Regions from separate parts of the Homo sapiens genome. Here region 1 is linked to region 2. Evidence: promoter capture Hi-C in human tissues and cell types (Jung and others, 2019). All regions are on one chromosome and are shown on one strand. Each heading gives the region's core, a stretch centred on a gene start or on the middle of the fragment in contact. The rest is flanking DNA. Distances are from core to core; before and after follow the strand shown.

Region 1 (5,076 bases), core at 2,272-4,771, 44 kb after region 2:
GAAACCCATCTCTACTAAAATACAAAAATTAGCCGGGCGTGGTGGCGTGCGCCTGTAGTCCCAGCTAAAGAGGCTGAGGCAGGAGAATCGCTTGAACCCGGGAGGTAGAGGTTGCAGTGAGCTGAGATTACAGGACACTGCACTCCACTCTGGGTGACAGAGCAAGACTCTGTCTCAAAAAAACAATCACCTTTAAGGGATGGTTTTTGAACTTCTAACCAATATTTTAAAAAGGTAAAAACCTCATCAATTTCTTTATAACTGCACCCTCTAGTGGCCTGTTTTATCTATTAATTTTTTTTTTTTTTTTGACAGTCTCACTGTCAAAAGTCTCACTGTCCAGCCCAGGCTGGAGTACAGTGGTACAATCTTGGCTCACTGCAGCCTCTACCTCCAGGGTCCAAGCAATTCTTGTGCCTCAGCCACCTCAGTAGCTGCTATTACCAGCATGTGCCATCATGCCTGGCTAATTTTTATATTTTTAGTAGAGACAGGGTTTTGCCCAGGCTGGTTTCAAATTCCTGGCCTCAAGTGATCCGCCCACCTTGGCCTCACAAAGTGCTGGGATTACAGGGGTGAGCCATCACGCTCGGCCATATCTATTAAAAAATTTTAAGACAATCATACACACCAGCCTCACTGCTTAGAGAACCCTGTCCAGTGTGCCTGACCCCTTTTCCCTCCCTCCTTCTCCTCTCACCCCCAAGATAGTTATTTGAAAATGGCTTGAAATACAAACAATAAAACCTTAGATCAAAAAAAATCTCAAAATATAATACATTAACAGACAATGATATAGCTCTACCAAACATTCACACGCAGGCAACAGAATAAGCCTTTGGGTTTACCAAGGACATTTTACAGTCAAAGGGCCACCTGCCCTCCTTCCTTCCCTGACTACATTCTCAGGGAAGCTTTTCCTTGCAGACACTTCGTTGCAAGGTCAGCTTTCTCTCTCAGCACGTTGGCTTCGTCGGCGCTTCTGTGGGCCTGTGCGTTCTTTAGCAAGAAGTGGCTGATGAAAAGCTTCAAACCCTCACGTAACACCCCCAGCTTTGGGTTGTCAGATACTCTGGAAAGGAATCGTATAAACACATGTCAGGGCTGAGCTGGCCTCTCCTAGATCTCAATCCTGGGTATCTCGCATAGTGAGACATAACCAGTTTCTTTTAAAAATAAAATTCTCAATTAAGAACTTCTTAACATATTTTATTATTAACAATCATTGTTAGTTTGCTAGCAGACAAGTTTCTATTCCCCAGATCTAATGCATACCAGCTTAAAAATAAAACCGAAAAGATTAAGCTACACGTATAGTACAACCTTGTGTTTGTAAATCAACACAAGTGAAAACAATCTCTTCATTTCTCTTCCATGTCTCGTCGGAAAGGGTGGGGCACATACCTTGTGAAAATTAAACTGAGGTCTTCAACTTCTGTTTCCATTAATAGGATACTTAATACTTTTCGTAAAAAACGGACTCTGGGTTTGTCCAATTCACTGAATTCAACTACCTAATGGTCAGGACATGGAGAAAAATAAAGTTACACTGATTTAGCCAACTTTTTCAATGATTTGTAATATAGTTAATTAGAGTAAAAATTAATCTCCCCCCTTCCCCCACTCTACCCGATTTAAGAAGCTATTTCCAGAGCTAAGAAATGAACACCTGTTGGCAAGGATGTGGGCCTTGGGAATTCCTACACACTGCTGGCAGAGGTGTGGCCGGCCACAGCCACCGTTGAGAACAACTCAGCAGTGTAAGTGGAATTCCCGGGTCATACACCTTATGAATCAGAAATTCAGTATCTAGAACTGAACCATAAATTACCTCCATTCCCAAAAGTACCCATCCCCTAATTAAAACTATATATATATATATATATATATATATATATATATATATATATATAAAATTTACTTCTAGAAGACTAATCCATATATATCTCTGCCCTAGAAAACTATCAAAAAATCAGAAATAAACACGGATCAGTAGGATAAGTAAGTATATAAACTGAGGCATACGTATACAGTAGGATGCTACCCAGAACAGACTCACGGGCGCCAACGTGGACCCACTGCAATCTTAGCTGAATGTCAGCGAGCTAGAGGAGGGGACTAAACGCATGGTGACGGGAATGCTACCCACAGGGAGGTGCGCAGCCAAACACCATCACAGGCGCTTGCGGACCCGAGGACGCGGCGAGACCACAAAAGCATGGTCGAAACACAGAGAAACTCGGAATGAGAGCAGCCCGGAGGGGCAGGGCGGGGGGCATCTCTAAAGCTCTACGCCTGAGGGTGTGCTCCTGCCACGCCTCTCCCGCTCATCGGTGGTAGCATCTGTGCTGTTCCAGGATGAGCGCAATGCCTGGGCGAGCGAAAGGCAAGGCAGGGGAGCGGAGGGGGAGCAACGCCTCCTCCATGAGCTAAGTTATTCCAGTTGTCAGGATTTGGCGTAAGGCTCGGTGCCCTCATTTTCAGTACAGTGGCCAAACTTGGACACCACACAGCAAGGGACGCAGGGTGAACTGGAGCCGGCATGCTGATGAACTGCACACGACACACAGAAACACACGGGAAGCTGTGGCTGCGGCTGTCTTGTGGGTCTGGGCCACTGCAGTCAACGCCCCTCAACTATCTCTGCTTTTCACTTCCCTTTGCCCCCCAGGCGCTCCAGTTTTTTTTTTTGGCTATTCAGAGTCTGTTGGTCCCACCATCCAAGCCTTACAGGCCCACATCTAACCCCAACTCCACCTGGTAAGATGTCTAGGTTTCAGCTGGGCGCACTGGCTCACACCTGTAATATTAGCACTTTGGGAGGCTGAGGAGGGCAGATCACAAGGTCAGGGGTTCCAGACCAGCTTGGCCAACATGGTGAAATCCCGTCTCTATTAAAAATACAAAAATTAGCTGGGCGTGGTGGCATGAGCCTGTAATCCCAGCCACTTGGGAGGCTGAGGCAGGAGAATCGCTTGAATCCCGGAGGCAGAGGTTGCAGAGATTGCACCACTGCACTCCAGCCTGGGTGACAGAGCAACTCCCATCTTGGGGGGGGAAGAAAAAAGATGTCTGTGTTTCATGGTCCACTGCAAAGTCCCAAAACACAGCAGGGCAGGAGAAAGCCTACAGTTTTAAAACACCTTACATCAACGTGAGCAAACTCACCTCACCTCTAAGGAGACCAGGCCCTACTTCATCCGCCCTTCTCCTCACTAACAGTGACCAGTTCAGGATTTTATAATTAGGACCAGCAAATTAACCTCAAGCTCCAAAACACATTCATTCAGATTAGCAAAAGAACTGCAGCGGTGCCTTCATTTACCAGATCAATTTGTAGCACATGTTAGTCTGGCCGTTTTCTGTCCTGGCTAGGATAATGCAAGCACTTTTCAGATGAATCAGAATCGAAGAAAATACGCTGGTAAAACAGGACCTGATTTACCAGGTACTAAACAATTACACTCCCATTTCCATTGCTTTCAATATTTTCACACGTTACACGAACCTTTAAGATGGAAAGGGAAAGCGATTTTGTCTTCAACAAGTGGGCCACCAGATGAACCAAATTAGAGAAATTCGTAGCTGGCAAGTTTTCCAAGTCCCGAAATTTGTCCCATATGCTGAACTGGAAAGTCATCTAGTATCATAGTTAAAAGGAGAAAAAAGGCAAACGGCCACAAATTACTATAATATATCACTAACAACATAACCTAAAGGTATTTTCTTATTATCTTATTTTTAATATTCTAAACATCAAGACTTTTAGTGGTGGCCTCACTGTTCTTGCCTATAGAGCATAGTCCCAAACAGCTTCACAAGAATCTCCTTCTGGTGCAGTTCTTCCCCCCAAATCAGCAGATACTAACAGAACATTCTAAGGAAAAGGCCACAGCAAGGGGCATCAGAACAGACTGGTGCACTGTGAACCGACGAGGTGCTCCTGCTGGCCTGGCCACACTGCCTGCATCTGTGGCAGAAGCAGGTGACATGAGGACATGGTGGACCCTTGACACTCCCCTCTAGCCCTCCCACTTCCGCTCCCAGTGAAGGTGGCCTGGCAGCCAGCGTGGACCAGGTGACGGGGATATCAGGGGCCTCCTGACTTGGGGAACTCCTTTGCAGGTGGGTTGAGCCAGGTAGCCTGTGTAGAAAAAATAGTAGAGCGGACGTAACTGGTGCCTCCGCACTAAGCTACCTGAAATCTCCTTTCATATTCACAGAATTTGCTAGCCAGGAAAGCATAGAAGGGATTGTAAGTTTTCTCTTGAAGGCAGCAATCCATGAGAACGTGAATGATTTCTCTCTCCTGCTGATCCTTAAGTCCAAGCCTAGAAAACAGAACAGCAATGACTGGAACATCACTCGACTTCCAAAGTTTAATGGCTGATACCTTTCAGGGGAACATCTTCCCGCCTGGAAGGGTCTGGTTAGAGGCGAGCCACGTAAAGGAGGTGGAGGCAGCGGCAGACACCAGCTAGGGGCCCAGCCCTGTCACAACCTCTCTGGTCCTCAGGTTCTCCTACAATGTGGCAAAATGTCAGAGGAGACAAGACCATCTAGGGGGTCCCCCGTCGCTGCAAAAGTCGACAGCTGTGCCCGGCTGACAATAAACTGACTCAATCGTGTGTGCCCTTAGAGCTGGTTCCTGCTATGGCGATGACTTCACATTTTCTTACTTTTTTTTTTGAGACAGTCTTGCTCTGTCACCCAGGCTGGAGTGCAGTGGCATGACTTCAGCTCACTACAACCTCCATCTCTCCGGTTCAAGTGATTCTTGTACCTCAGCCTCCCGAGTAGCTGGATTACAGGTGCCACCACCACCCCCAGCTAATTTTTGTGTTTTTAGTAGAGATGGGGTTTTGCCATGTTGGCCAGGCTGCTCTCGAACTCCTGACCTCAGGTGTTCCACCCACCTTGGCCTCCCAAAGTGCTGGGATTACAGGCATGAGCCACGGTGCCTGCCGTCGTTTGTAAAACTTGAGTTAGAGCTCACACACAGTAAAACCTATCCTTTGTAGTGTAGAGTCCTGAGTGTGGATAAGCCCATATGGTCAGGTCACCACCGGCAATGCC
Region 2 (5,801 bases), core at 3,114-5,613:
CCCAGCTCCGGTGAGCCTAGGCCCTCTCCACAGATTCTCCTTCCCTCTGAGCTCCAGGAAGGAGGTCGGAGCATCTCCCAGCAGTTCCTGCTCTGACCCTCTGGGCTCCCACTCCAGCCTAACTAAGCTACTTCCTGTGCCAGGGGCAAGTCCCATCTCAAACTCGTGCTTAGGTCCCTCCGGCCAGTTACACAGCATCTTCATGCCTGTTTCCTGAAGAAAGCCTTGACAGTTTACATTGAAACGGAACTGCATGAGTCCCCGAAGACCACATGGCTTCAGCAGGACAGGACTAATGTGCCTGGGCCCCTCTGCAGCCAAGTCCTCTCTGTTGGCCCTGGGCTTCAGTTTTGGAAATGCAAGATCTGCCCCCTGCTTCAGCCACCCAGTGCCCTTCCAGGCAACTGCTCCATTTCACATGGAAAAAAAGCAATATCTAAATGATAAATAAATGCATGATACCTGCCTCGCATCTTGTGAATATGTGAATGTACAGGTTTTTTCCCCAGTCCTCACGGGTTCCCAGTTGTGTGTGTAAGTCCAGATGTAAACAGACACAGACTACAACGGCGTTTTCTTTTGTGATGGTTTGTAGAAATCACCATCTCCTTCCCAAGTAGTGGAAGGAAGGGCAGCTGCAGGCACTCTTCAGTTCCTTAACAGGAGGCCTGTAGAAAGCAGGCTCCCGCGCTGGGCAGGGAGGAGCTGTGGTGGGGGCCAGCTGATTAGGGTGCACCAGGCCCTCTCTGCCTGTCTTGAGAAACCAAGAGCTCCAGGGAGAACTCTCCAGGGCTGAGTTCTGCCCCTGGGGCCGCTGGAGAGAAAACTCACCTGGAGACTCAGGTTTGGTAGCACTACTAGGATCAGACCTTTGATCTCTCTTTGTGGCCCTTCCCAAGACCCAAGCCCAGCTCCAGACTGCCCCAAAGCCAGCTGGGCTGGATCAATACAGATACTGGGAACAGGAAGAGACCCAGCAGGCTCCGCCTCACACATTGTAAACCACACAAAGATCCACACTTCCCAGATAGCTCCCTCTCTCCCCCACACCTGCCTCTCTCCATGCAGCTTTACAGAGAACCTCCTTTTTATATTAACATATTCTTAAATATAAGCAGAACATCTGATCATTTTAAGGCCCTATAGCTCCTTAGAGTCCATTTGGTCCAACCCCTGCTTCTGTAGACAAAGAAACAAATCCATCGAGATAAGGAGCTTCAGATTCCTGAAATGGCACCTCAGCCAGAGGGGCGGTCCGGACAGGACGCAGGGCTGCTAGGCTAGGCCTCCTCGGACAGCCTTGCACAGCCCCACAGGTGGTACAGACACCTGAAGGACCTGCACACGTGTTGTCCTGTCTGTGTTTTCAGGGAGGTGTCCTCAGCAGGTCTCAGGCAGAATAGAAACATGAGACAGGGTGTGAAGGGGTTTTGGACCATGGTTATTACAGAACAAAAAGGGGTGAAATTAATTCCTCTAGGAGTTAAAAAAAAAAGCCAGAAAACACCCACTGTGATTTTGTTGAAGGAGATGGCTGATGTCATGAGTCTAGACTACACACCCCATCACCAACTAAAATCACCCTGGCAGTGTGTATTTTTGGTTGGAGAGAGGAACAGCATCTTCTCCAAGGTCCATCCTGGGAGATTTCTTCTGCAGCCACTCCCTTCCCCCAGCTCCCTAAATCATTGACCTCAGGACCAAGCAATCTGCCCCCAGCAGATGGGGGTGATGAGAAGAGAAAGGCAAGTCAGCCTTGGTGCCAAACCCCTGGAGGAGGAGGCCAAGGCTGTGTTCTCTACCCTGGGGAGGCAGAGTCACAGCTAGGGCTTCCTGCCTGGGACAGGTGGCTAAGAATCTCTGGTCTCCTTTACAATCCTTCCCTCCCCAAAAAGAAACAGATGGGATGGGGACTCAGGGCTAGGTGTACCTGAAAGCTTTGAGGGCAGCAGGGTGGGAACAGTGTGGCCTCTGCAATCAGACCTGGTCCCACTCCCAGCTCTAAGGCCAAACTGTCTGCTGGGAACAAGGATCCCAAACTCTCTGAACTTGTACTCTAGAAAATGGAGATGATAGCCCGGGCACGGTCGCTCATGCCTGTAATCCCAGCACTTTGGGAGGCTGAAGTGGGTGGATCACCTGAGGTCGGGAGTTCGAGACCAGCCTGACCAACATGGTGAAACCCCATCTCTACTAAAAACACAAAAATTAGCCTGGCCTGGTGGCACATGCCTGTAATCTCAGCTATTGGGGAGGCTGAGGCAGAAGAATCGCTTGAACCTGGGAGATGGAGGTTGCAGTGAGCCATGATCATGGCATTGCACTCCAGCCCGGGCAACAAGAACAAAACTCCATCTCAAAAAAAAAAAAAAAAAGTGGGGGGCGCCTGGCGCGGTGGCTGACTCCTGTAATCCCAGCACTTTGGGAGGCCGAGGCGCGCGGATCAGGAGGTCAGGCGATCAAGACCATCCTCGCTAACACGGTGAAACCCCGTCTCTACCAAAAATACAAAAAAAAAAAAGAAAGAAAAGAAAATGGAGATACGGAGATGATAAAAATCTTCCTTCTAGTGTCATAGTGAAGATTACGGATGAGAATTGCAGAAAGCTCATAGCACATAGTAGGTGTTCAAGAAATGCGCGTGTTTCCCTCTCTCCAGTGAGAGGTAGAACTGCATTTGTGTCACCACAAAGACATCTAAAGGCACGACAAACTCCATGTGAATGCCTGGGATTTCTTTTTACCAGTGGTCGGCTCTGCAAAGCCAGATCACATTTACTCCAAGTTGCAGTTACTCATCCATTGCCATCCTCCTAACCTTCCAACCAGTCCTGTGCATCTGGGAACTACCCTGTGTTATAATGAAAACGATACCACTCATGGCAACAGAGTCACTGTCATCAACTCTCGCCTAGGTCAAAAGCCTTTTGAGGAGAAGTGGCAAGGTCTCTATATTTGCCTTTTTAAAAATCCCTCTTGTAGCAACCTGGCGTGCTAATTTTGAAGTTTACCTGGCACTGAGTTTCTCTTTGGCTCTCTCCCCTCTCCACAGCCCCTTCCGGTCCTTTATTCACCTCTCACCTGCATAGCAAGCCCTGGAACCTGGAACTCCCTCCCAGTTCTCACGCTTGCTGGGGAAGATAACTGGGTCTAATGGCGCTATTGACAAAGCCTGGTGTTGATGCCGCTTGACTTCCCGACCCCTGTGTGGATTCTTTCAGCTTCAAAAACGCCCTTGGAAGTGGTTTTACTGTAAATATTTGAAGTGTGCGTGTGGGGGAGGGGTGAGACCTGGATGCTCACTCCGTGCCTCGCTCACTCACGGGAAGCCCTTTCCTCTCCACTTCCCAGGAGGCCCCGGCAGCACGAGAGACATAGCCTTTCCCCGCTCCTGCCCGGGGACTGGCCGGGGGTCGCAGCGGCAGGGCTTCCGAAGGATGCCGGGCCCCACGGGTTTTTCAGGGCCGAGGTGTGTGGGCCTTGACTCCCGCAAGCCCATGGGCATCCCTCGGCAGCGAGGAAGAGCCTTGTCACCGAGGACCCGCTCCACTGAGCAGGCACGTGGGCGACGTCTGCAAGCCGACTTGGGTTCTGCAGGCCAGAGCGCCCAGATCTACCGTCTCCGCCTTGACTGGGGCAGGGGCTCCCAGAGAGGATTCGTGGAGGCCAAACTCACACTCACATGCGCGTTTACACCCCCACACCCCCGCACACACACCTGAAAATGCGGGGCCTTCCCATAGCAGATAAGGTTCGACCTGCAGAGCTTTGGCCACGGGGACAAAACCCTCCCCTGCTGCGCCCTGGAGGCCCGAGAGCAGGGAGGGCTTGGGAAACACCACGGTCTTCAGTGCGCTGCCGTCGCCTCGCAGAGCGGCCAGGTCTGCGCAGCGTGGGCGCTCAGGAGCGTGGAACCACCGCGCTCCGCAAGGCAGACGTGGACCCACTCCAGCGCCGACAAGGAGGCCGGAGAGGACGCGCGCAGCTGGCTCCAGGGACCAACCAAGTCCGGAGGGGCCCACGTGTCTCGGGAGCGGGTCTTGGGCCGCCGCGGGGCTCTCCAGGGGCCCGGGGGTTGCCAGTGCCCGCCGTCCGGCTCCGCACCCAGGGGAGGGCGGGCAGAGGCCCCAGGTTGAGCCTCGGAGTATCCACTCCCCGTTGGTGTCCCCGCCCGCCAGCGCCGCGCAACAGCCCGGGCTGCTTAGGACCTCGCGGCGCGGGGGCGGGGCGGCGGGCGGCCGGGACGGTGACAGGTGCGCCCCTCGGCCAATGGCGGAGCCCGCGGCCCTCCCCGGGCCCCCGCTGCGCGCGCCAATCGGAAGCCGCGCTGAGCTTCAAGTGCGCGGAGGGGCGCGGGTCCCCACCACGGCGGCAGCGGCCTCCGCGCGGTCGCCTGAGGGCTGCAGCGCAAAGAACCGGGCTCCCGGGCCCGGACGCGGGGAAGCACTCGCGTGGGAGTTTGTGCGAGCGCGGCCCGGGGCGGGGCCCGCACGGAGGAGGCGCCGGGACCATGGTCACCCTCGGCTGAGTTTCCGGCGGCGACTTTGATTATTGGCAAATAACCACCATAACAATACCGAGCCCCCGGGCTTGCACCGCACGCACTGACTCCGCGAGCCCGCACACGGCCGCGTCGCCCGCCACCGGGCCCTGAGCGCCAGCCCCAAACGAGCCGATGGAAAAATCCAAAAATTTCCGCATCGACGCCCTGCTGGCGGTGGACCCCCCACGAGCCGCCTCTGCGCAGAGCGCGCCGCTGGCCTTGGTCACGTCGCTCGCCGCCGCCGCATCTGGCACCGGAGGTGGCGGCGGCGGCGGCGGGGCGAGCGGCGGGACTAGCGGCAGCTGCAGCCCCGCGTCCTCGGAGCCGCCGGCTGCGCCCGCCGACCGCCTGCGCGCCGAGAGCCCGTCGCCGCCGCGCCTGCTGGCCGCGCACTGCGCGCTGCTGCCCAAGCCGGGCTTCCTGGGCGCGGGCGGCGGCGGCGGCGGCACGGGCGGCGGGCACGGGGGGCCCCACCACCACGCGCATCCGGGCGCAGCGGCCGCTGCCGCCGCCGCCGCCGCCGCCGCCGCCGCTGGGGGCCTGGCGCTGGGGCTGCACCCTGGGGGCGCGCAGGGCGGCGCGGGCCTCCCGGCGCAGGCGGCGCTCTACGGCCACCCGGTCTACGGCTACTCCGCGGCGGCGGCGGCGGCTGCGCTGGCGGGCCAGCACCCGGCGCTCTCCTACTCGTACCCGCAGGTGCAAGGCGCGCACCCCGCGCACCCCGCCGACCCCATCAAGCTGGGCGCCGGCACCTTCCAGCTGGACCAGTGGCTGCGCGCGTCCACCGCGGGCATGATCCTGCCTAAGATGCCCGACTTCAACTGTGAGTACCCTGCGGCCCCCGTGGATGCGCGTGGCGGGAGGGCCTCGCGCATCCTCCACCGGCACCGCCTGCCCCTCTCTGCGCTTGGCTCCCAGCGAGCGGGGGAAGAGCTGCGAAGCCGCCTCGGCTCTGCCCGGGGCCTGCGAGGACTCGCCCGGACCCCCAGGCATGAGACGGGCAGCGAATTATTAAAATGGCCATGCGCAGGCCTTGCCTTCTCTTCCTCTCTTAACGGGAAGGGGCAGTTGGAGGTGTGAGACTGAGATCTAATGATTAACCCGAAGGCTGCAGGAGAAGGAAGTCGCCGGGGGAAGGCGAGCCGAGAGCGCCCTGAATTAGGCAGGCCCGGGAATGGGGGTCAGGGCTTATCACCGGGGAAAGGAACTTGGGCCAGGTCCCCCACTGGGGCGTTAGAGAGACCCGCGGCCCCTCCAG

The links. The method cuts DNA at HindIII sites, captures the fragments that hold promoters and counts their contacts. A contact is called where the count stands out against the background at its distance.
Region 1: a contact is called between a fragment that was not itself captured here and the fragment with the promoter of MNX1 in region 2, in 1 of the 25 tissues and cell types used here (adrenal gland).

The regions. Positions count from the first base shown.
Region 1 is chr7:156,965,525-156,970,600 of GRCh38, reverse strand. It overlaps NOM1 (nucleolar protein with MIF4G domain 1), which reads right to left. Exons shown (of 11, transcript NM_138400.2): 8 at 4,199-4,331; 9 at 3,509-3,640; 10 at 1,405-1,514; 11 at 1-1,072. The coding sequence ends at 898. Among named protein-coding and RNA genes, the nearest start is that of NOM1, 18 kb to the right of the region's middle. RefSeq lists a silencer at 2,080-2,271. The HindIII fragment of the contact is 5,101 bases long and covers 971-5,076 here.
Region 2 is chr7:157,009,225-157,015,025 of GRCh38, reverse strand. MNX1 (motor neuron and pancreas homeobox 1) reads left to right here and starts at 4,363. Exons shown (of 3, transcript NM_005515.4): 1 at 4,363-5,366. The coding sequence starts at 4,676. MNX1-AS1 (MNX1 antisense RNA 1 (head to head)) reads right to left here and starts at 4,169. Exons shown (of 2, transcript NR_038835.1): 1 at 3,719-4,169. RefSeq lists silencers at 3,952-4,561, 5,072-5,141, 5,152-5,201. The HindIII fragment of the contact is 12,613 bases long and covers 620-5,801 here.